Regions from separate parts of the Homo sapiens genome. Here region 1 is linked to region 2. The links are contacts of gene promoters, found by promoter capture Hi-C in blood cells and fetal thymus (Javierre and others, 2016). All regions are on one chromosome and are shown on one strand. The core of a region is centred on a gene start or on the middle of the fragment in contact, and the rest is flanking DNA. Distances in the headings are between cores, read along the strand shown.

What was found. The method cuts DNA at HindIII sites, captures the fragments that hold promoters and counts their contacts. A CHiCAGO score of 5 or more calls a contact.
Region 1: a contact is called between a fragment that was not itself captured here and the fragment with the promoter of CYBB in region 2, in 1 of 17 cell types (total B cells). The highest score is 6.7, in total B cells.

What each region holds. Positions count from the first base shown.
Region 1 is chrX:30,574,997-30,579,260 of GRCh38, forward strand. It overlaps TASL (TLR adaptor interacting with endolysosomal SLC15A4), which reads right to left and starts at 2,770. Exons shown (of 3, transcript NM_025159.3): 1 at 2,642-2,770; 2 at 1,756-1,870. RefSeq lists an enhancer at 2,792-3,001. The HindIII fragment of the contact is 205 bases long and covers 1,831-2,035 here.
Region 2 is chrX:37,777,112-37,781,612 of GRCh38, forward strand. It overlaps CYBB (cytochrome b-245 beta chain), which reads left to right and starts at 2,948. Exons shown (of 13, transcript NM_000397.4): 1 at 2,948-3,011. The coding sequence starts at 2,967. RefSeq lists an enhancer at 2,990-3,039. The HindIII fragment of the contact is 266 bases long and covers 2,818-3,083 here.

The sequences.
Region 1 (4,264 bases), core at 683-3,182, 7.2 Mb before region 2:
ATTTTTTTTTAATTTTCCAATCAAATGAGCTAATTTATGTTTGTCTCAAATTAGAGAGTCTTGTTAAAATCATATGTAGGTCATGTGTTATTTTTTAATGCCTGCAAAACTCAAAATCCTGTATTTCATCTCTTTACCTCTATATTATATTACCCTATAATATAAATTCTAAATCCCATAATTCCATTGTAAACTTTTTAAGACTTTCTTGGTGTGGGGGACTTGCAGGTAAATTGCTGAAAAGTGATCACTGAAAAACTTGAATATTGTTTTGTTCATGATTTAATTATGATAATGTAACCAAATCTGTATTACATGTTCCAGTTTTTTTTCAGTGAATGATGCTAGACCTTTACCTAAACAAAAAGCTTCTTTAGGAAGGACCTCCCTGTATAAAATAGCATCTGCAGTTTCCTTACTCTTATCTTTAAAAATACCTGTTCCTTAGAGCTGGAAATAATCACTTAATCACATACCTTAGATTATATCCCTATTATTTCAGCTTGTATTGAATTTATTGATGAATGCTCTAAAATATTGCTCATTAATATTTCAATTTCTGTTACAAATCATATAATTTGGGATTATCTATTCTTGTATCAAATATGAAGTGATTCTTAACAAATTAATTTCTGAAAGTATAACTTTATGGCTAAGATAATACAATCATAAATCAAAAGCCCTCTCTTCTTCATATTAATATTACCAAGTAAATAAATAATTTTTTGTTTGGTTCTGCTTAGATTCTTATGACCAAAGTTAATGGCTACTTCCAAGGACGATCTGATGTGTGAATTTTCTTAGTTCAGAAAATGTAAACTTTGGTGCAGAAATATTAGTAAATATATTTTATCATAGTTTGGATTTTTCTTTATACTCCTTCTTGATATAAATTGAAAAATTAAACCTTTTGGATCATTTTTTGAATCACTTTCAATGTATTTTGATGCAAAATGAGAGGACTAAAAAAATAAGAAACCTATCATAATAGTATTGTACTGATATAAATTTCTTTGGTGTTATAATTGTTAATCATTGTTAATCATGTTAATTATGCCAATTTCATTAACATTTACTTAATTGTAGGCATGTCAACTACAAATGCAATGCAAGATTCTTGATTGGATCCTGGATTTAAAACATAAAAAGATTCTAAAGGACATGTGGATAATTAGGAAAATTTGAATGTGTATCACATCTTAGATAATAGTATTGTGTTGATGTTATGTTTCCGTGGTGTTGTAATGTGTTATAGAAGACTGCCTTTATTTTTAGGAGATACATGCTCAAGAATTTAGGGGTGACATGTGTCCTAAAGTCAGCAACATACTTTCAAACCATTCAGGGAAAAAACTGTGCATATGTGCATGCGTGTGTGTGAATATATATATACACATATAGAGAGAGAGAAAAGGACAGGCAGAGACAGAGAAAGACAAAGCGAGAGAGAAAGTAAATGTGGCAAAAAGATACCACTGATTAATACACATGATGAAAATATGGGTGTTCGTTGTACTATTCTTTCAATTTTTATATAGATTTGAAACATTTCTAAATAAAAATTGGGAGGGGGAAAAAACCATATTTAGTTAATGAAGGCATATTTACATTGTATAATGTTTATTAAGAGCCTAGAGGGACAATATCTTATATATCTAAAATAATCACTACATATGAGATGAGAAATGTCTCAGTGACTTGATATAAATACTTCAAACATCATTTTGCTCTGAGATAATAGAATTAGTGTACTACCTTTGAATATCTCCAAAATTCCACTTATGATATGGATGTTTGACACAGACTTCAAATACTCTTCAATCCTCCAGAAGCTTCTCAAGCTCAGAAACAATCTTCTTCTCACACTGACCTATGCAAGAAATGTTATAAAATATCAATATAAATATTCTGTCCAAACCAGGTCTATATTTAAGCACAGATTCATATGCGCAAGACAAAGAATGTTTGAGCGAGTCTAAAGATAATTCAAACAAAACTCCACTCGTACATGCGCTATCTTTAATACCAAAAGGGAAGCTTTCCCCAAATCACCCAGATGAAAGTCGAAAAGCATCCTCACTATAGATCGCATTCATTTTGAATACATCCTGCCACACAGAAAAACACTATCACAAGCTTGCTGAACTGAATAATTGAGAGTCAAATCCAATTGGAAAGGACTGTGATTGTTTTCGTCTCTAAAACTGCATCACCGTAACTGAATTCAAGAGCTGTGTTGTCCCTGCAAAACCCTGCTTAGGTTTTTAGGCCTTCTTTTAAAAATGCAGAAGCTAAACCAGTGTGGCAATTAGTGAAAGAGGACTGCAAAAATAACACAATAAATATTTGCTCAGATCAGTCAAAAATTGTAGGTAAAAATATAAGTGTTTTAGAAATGCTTAGAATGTGGACACGAGGAGGTAAGGAAAGGAAGTATTGGGCTTAATTTCTCTTTATTTTTCAACTCCACTGAATGCTTGTTTAAACTCCCACTTGTCTCTGATATGGTAAGCTAGAAAAGCATTTTAGATGTCATAAGAATGGATCAGCGCTCTCGTGATAAAGGGCTAAGAAAGCGTGAGAAGACAGATGACAAAAAATAATAGCGGAGTTCTAGGGTCCTTTGCTTTCTTTTTCTTACCTTCACTAACCAATCTGCTCATCTGATCCGGCAGAAACACAGCAACTGACCAAACAGAGAGATGAACAAGCCAGCCAATGCTCTTTCCAGAAATTTTCACAAGCCTTTCACTGATGAGACCAGTAGACTGAGCTGCTCAGTGCAAAGCCATTCTTTTTATAATTGGTCCCATGGAAAAAGAGTTGTTTTTGTTCAAGTCCGATTTGTGCTAAAGAGGCAGTGGGAAGTCCCGGGAGGTGGGGAGGCAGTAACTGACAAAGCCACATCAAGCCACAGAATGGTGTTTCTTCCCCTTTTTCGAAAAATGAAACCTATCTACGAAACTGTCTCTTATTAAAATAGTTTATGGTTACACATTTTGTAAGAACCCTAGCAACAGAATTAAATTTCCTTTCTAGAAAAGTACATTATCTGGGATCCTTCACCCAAAAGAAAGCCAAAGTCACATATGACTTTAGGAAATTCTGTTTCGTTACTAATCTATAATTTTTAAGAAGTATTATTTCTCAATGGTACTTATAATTTTTAAAAATGTAAATGAAAAAAATTTTCTCGGCCGGGCGCAGTGGCTCACGCCTGTAATCCCAGCACTTTGGGAGGCCGAGGCAGGTGGATCAGGAGGTCAGGAAATCGAGACCATCCTGGCAAACACGGCGAAACCTCGTCTCTCCTAAAAATACAAAAAATTAGCCGGGCGCGGTGGCGGGCGCCTGTGGTCCCAGCTACTCGGGAGGCTGAGGCAGGAGAATGGCGTGAACCCGGGAAGTGGAGCTTGCAGTGAGCCGAGATCGCGCCACTGCACTCCAGCCTGGGCGACAGGGCGAGACTCCGTCTCAAAAGAAAAAAAAAAGAAAAAAGTTTTCCCTCTCCAAATACCGAAGGTCAAAACAATAATACATGGTGTGGGCAAAGTTGTGAAGAAACAAGCACTCTCAAACACTACTGATGAGATTGTAAACATATTTAGAGGGCAATTTCCCAGTATCTCTCAAATACAAATATTCATACCCTTTGACCCAACAATTGTATTTTTTATAAATTTGTCCAAGCTATATGTTTACACTTGTACACAAAGACTTATGTGAAAAGATATTTGTTGCAGCATTGCTTGAGAAAATAAATGACTAGAAAAAATTATATCCATAAATAAGATATTGGCCAAGTAAATGAGAACGTATGCATACTTAAAATCCTATGTAGGTTGTGTGCGGTGGCTCACGCCTGTAATCCTAGCACTTTGGGAGGCCGAGGCAGGTGGATCACTTGAGGTCAGAAGTTTGAGACCAGCCTGGCCAACATGGTGAAACCTTGTCTCTACTAAAAATACAAAACTTAGCCACGCGTGGTGGTGGGCACCTGTAATCCCAGCTACTCGGAGGCTGAGGCATGAGAATCCCTTGAACCCGAGAGGTGGAGGTCACAGTGAGCTGAGATTGTGCCACTGCACTCCAGCCAGGGTGACAGAGCGAGACTCCATCTCAAAAAAAAAAAAAAAGAAAAAAAAAGATCTCTAACATATATTGTTTAGCAAGAACTCATTTTCCAGTTTGTATTTTTAAGGAATATATGTATATACATGCTTATGTAATAGAATATTTCTTTTTAAAATTTTGTATTTTAATT
Region 2 (4,501 bases), core at 1,698-4,197:
AACCACGAGACTAACTTCTCTTTATGTGGTTTACACATGGTCTAAGAGCCATAGCATTCTAAAAAGTACCTTTCCTTGAATATTAAGAAGTGAAAAACACTACTACTTTGCTAATTATCGTAATTACAGAAGCTTCCCAAGTAGTTCATGGACAACAATCAAAAGAGTACTTATGTCTTTTTTTTCCTTCTTTTGTTCCCTTTCACTCCTCCCATTTCTTTTTTTTTTACCTCCATATTAGCTATAACTGCTGTACAACTACCCTTGTGCAATTAGTCAATATTGATCTCATAATGGGGTTACTATCCTACCTTCCTGTCTCTTTCATGTCTTGAAGAGTGGGTACCAACAAGGGAAATGATGCTACATTTAGCTTTTGGCATCTACCATATCTGACATATCTTTGTGCTGACCCTGTTTACTCACTTAGCATATAGGATGTCATGTTTGCCTGGAAACATGATTGCCATCTAAACATTTTGGTATATTTCTTGTATTTTGTCATGTTTTCCTATAGTTGTATGTGGAGTGATTTAATGTAGGGTTTTTAGTGTAGGCATAGTAAGGCTTTTTTCTAGTATCTTGGTCAAAAGTATAACCAAATTTCTTGGGTTTTAAATCCCAACTCTACTATTTGCTAGTTATGTGAACTTGGCCAAGTAACTGAACTGCTCTGGAACTCAGTTTCCTTATCTGTAAATATAATCATAATAATAGAATCTGCTTTACAGTGGTTGAGTTGTGAGGATCAAATGAATTGATGTGTGTGTGTTTGCATGTGTGTCTATATGTGTAATACACACATATATGCAGTCATATCACTTAACTATGGGGGATTTGTTCTGAGAAATGTATCCTTAGGTGATTTTGTTGTTGTGTGAAAATCATAGAGTGTATTTACATAAACCTGATGGTATAGTCTACTACACGCCTAGGCTACATGGTATAGCCTATGGCTGCTAGGCTACAAACCTTATCGTTTTTTATTGTACTGAATACTGTCAGAGATTCTAACACAATGGTATCTAACCATAGTTAACCATAGAAAATAGACAATAAAAATAAAGTATAAAAGATTAAAAATGGTACACCTGTATAAGGCACTTACCATGAGTAGAGCTTGGAGAACTAGAAGTTACTCTATGTGTCAGTGAGTGAGTGGTGAATGGATAGGAAGGCCTAGAACATTTTTGTACACTCCTATAGATTTTATGAACACTGTACACTTAGGCTATACTAAATATGCAAAACATTTTGTTTTTTCAATAATGAAATAAATTTAGCTTACTGTAACTTTTTATTTATAAACTTTTGCTTTTTTAATTTCTTGACTCTTTTGTAATAACCCTAAGCTTAAAACAAAAAAAATTTTACAGCTGTACAAAAATGTTTTAATATCCATATCTAGAAGCTTTATTCTGTTTTTAAATTTTTTATTTTTATATTTTACCTTTAAAACATTTTTGTTAAAAGCTAAGACACAAACATACACATTAGCCTAGGCCCACACAAAGTCAGGATCATTAATATCACTGTCTTCCACCTCCACATTTTGCCCCACTGGACAGTCTTCAAGGGCACTAACATGCATGAAGCTGTCATCTATGACAGCAATGCATTCTTCTGGAATACCTTCTGAAGGACCTGCCTGAGATTCTTTTACAGTTAACTTTTTTATAAGTAGGAGTATACTCTAAAATAATGATTAAAAGTATAGTCTAGTAAATAAATGAACCAGTAACATAGTCATCTATTTTTACTATCAAGTACTATGTAATGTACATAATTGTATGTGCTATACTTTTACAACTGGCAGCTCAGTAGGTTTGTTTACACCAGCATTGCCACAAACACATGAGTAATGTGTTATGCTACAATGTCACTAGATGGTAGGAATTTTTCAGCACACACACACAAGTATATATATTATATATTATATTATATATTATATATATATGTATATATATATATATATATATAGAGAGAGAGAGAGAGAGAGAGAGAGAGAGAGATGGAGTCTTGCTCTGTCGCCCAGGCTGGGGTGCAATGACACAATCTCGGCTCACTGCAACCTGACTCCCAGGTTCAAGTGATTCTCCTGCCTCAGCCTCCTGAGTAGCTGGGACTACAGGTGCCCACCACCATGCCCAGCTAATTTTTGTATTTTTAGTAGAGACGGGGTTTCACCATGTTGGCCAGATTGGTCCCAAACTCCTGACCTCAAGTGATCCACCCCACTCAGCCTCTCAAAGTGCTGGGATTACAGGCGTGAGCCACCGTGCCTGGCCAACACCATTATAATCTTATGGGACCACTGTCATACATGTGGTTCATCATTGGCCAAAGCATCTGTATTTATATATGTATGTTTCAAATTATATATATATATATATATATATATATATATATATATATGATAGCTATACATGAACATACACACACACATATATAGACATATATAGCACATAAAATTGGCACATATTAAGCATTTTGTAAATATCAACCATTACAATTGTTACTACTTTTCTCAGCAAGGCTATGAATGCTGTTCCAGCCTGTCAAAATCACACCTGTTTAATGTGTTTTACCCAGCACGAAGTCATGTCTAGTTGAGTGGCTTAAAAATTGTGATCAAATAGCTGGTTAGTTAAAAAGTTATTTCACTGTGTAAAATACATCCCTTAAAATGCACTGTTATTTATCTCTTAGTTGTAGAAATTGGTTTCATTTTCCACTATGTTTAATTGTGACTGGATCATTATAGACCCTTTTTTTGTAGTTGTTGAGGTTTAAAGATTTAAGTTTGTTATGGATGCAAGCTTTTCAGTTGACCAATGATTATTAGCCAATTTCTGATAAAAGAAAAGGAAACCGATTGCCCCAGGGCTGCTGTTTTCATTTCCTCATTGGAAGAAGAAGCATAGTATAGAAGAAAGGCAAACACAACACATTCAACCTCTGCCACCATGGGGAACTGGGCTGTGAATGAGGGGCTCTCCATTTTTGTCATTGTAAGTACCAACAAGAGATAAGTTATAAATTCTCTGACTTCTCGGGGTTATCTTGGAACTAAAATAGACCAAAGCTTTTTTGTTCATTTGAGGAATTGTGTTGAAACTGATTTACCATGTGAACCTATATCTATCTGTAAACAGACTGAGTCCATTCTTCCAAATTCCTTAATGGAAAGAACATATCTGGGGGCTCACTTCTAGCTTACTTCTGAATTCCTAGGAGGAATAAATTAGCCAGCATTTCGCAGAAGGAGTAGAAAATATTTCATGCTAATGATCTCTGATTCTGAGTTGTTTAGTAATGTTTACTCAGACGCACATGTCTATGTGTTTATACTACTTTAAAAATGACAAATTGAAATTTTATACCATTTTCTAAATAAAAAATATAAGATTGACTCATGTATGGGAAGTAGGCCTTTATTTCAGTAATTACACTAAATATAATAAAACTTCTCAAATTTATTTTCAAAAACAAGTACCTTCTTTTTTCAGAGATCTAAACTTGAGTTATTTATAAGATTTATAAAAATTCAAAAGAACAGAATTGAAATAAGTCATCTAGATTCATAAATATGTAGTATGTATATTTATATATAATTGTATATATATATAAATCAATATAGTCTGGAGAAACTATGTAAGTAAAGATATAGCTAATTTACAAGTGGACAGAATGATTTCTGTACTTTTTAAAACAAAGAAAATCAACTGTTCTCTTAAAATGGTGTTATCAGCAAAGCAATAATGGACAAATTGGGTAGATAGAAATACGATTTTTAAATAGCCTTTCTAAATAACCAATAGAAGCATTACACAGATGTTAAAAAGTACAATTATGAATGGAATATGAATGGAGCTTTTGTAAAAATTTATCATGAAAAATAATGAGTCTTTGAGTTTTAAATATAGAAAGCAATTAGTGGCACAAATAAAAACAACAAATATTTTGTTATAAAAAATGTTTACGCCAAACCAACATTCTACTGCAACAGAGAATTCTTCCGAGTATTCGAAGCTGTAAACTTAACTTCTTATCACCATTTTTAAGGGCAAATAATTTCTATAGAAAGTAAGTTCAAATTAAACTTTTAGCTCTCGCCACAATTTTTCCCAGGAAATGACCTCCTTCTAAATTATATACTCATGCACTTGAAAGTGAAAACACAGCTTGGAAAGTCAGAGTAAAGAAAGAATGACAAGATCAGGAAATTGGGAAGTTGCTTTAGCACTTTTTTCTTTGTAAAGAGAGAATATTATCAAGTGTCTAGAGCATATAATAGCTTCAAAGCATAGTTGAGAAAAGATCACTATGGAGCTGAAGGTAGAGAACTGGGTAGTGTGACCACTTGATCCAGTCAGTGCTTAGGATAAAATGAACTGTCATGATCTAGAAAGCTGTTTTTGTTGTAAATCCCAAGCCCCTCACTATGCTCAATATTCTCTCCTTGAAGCATTAAGTAAAACTAATCAAGGAAAATGGAAGG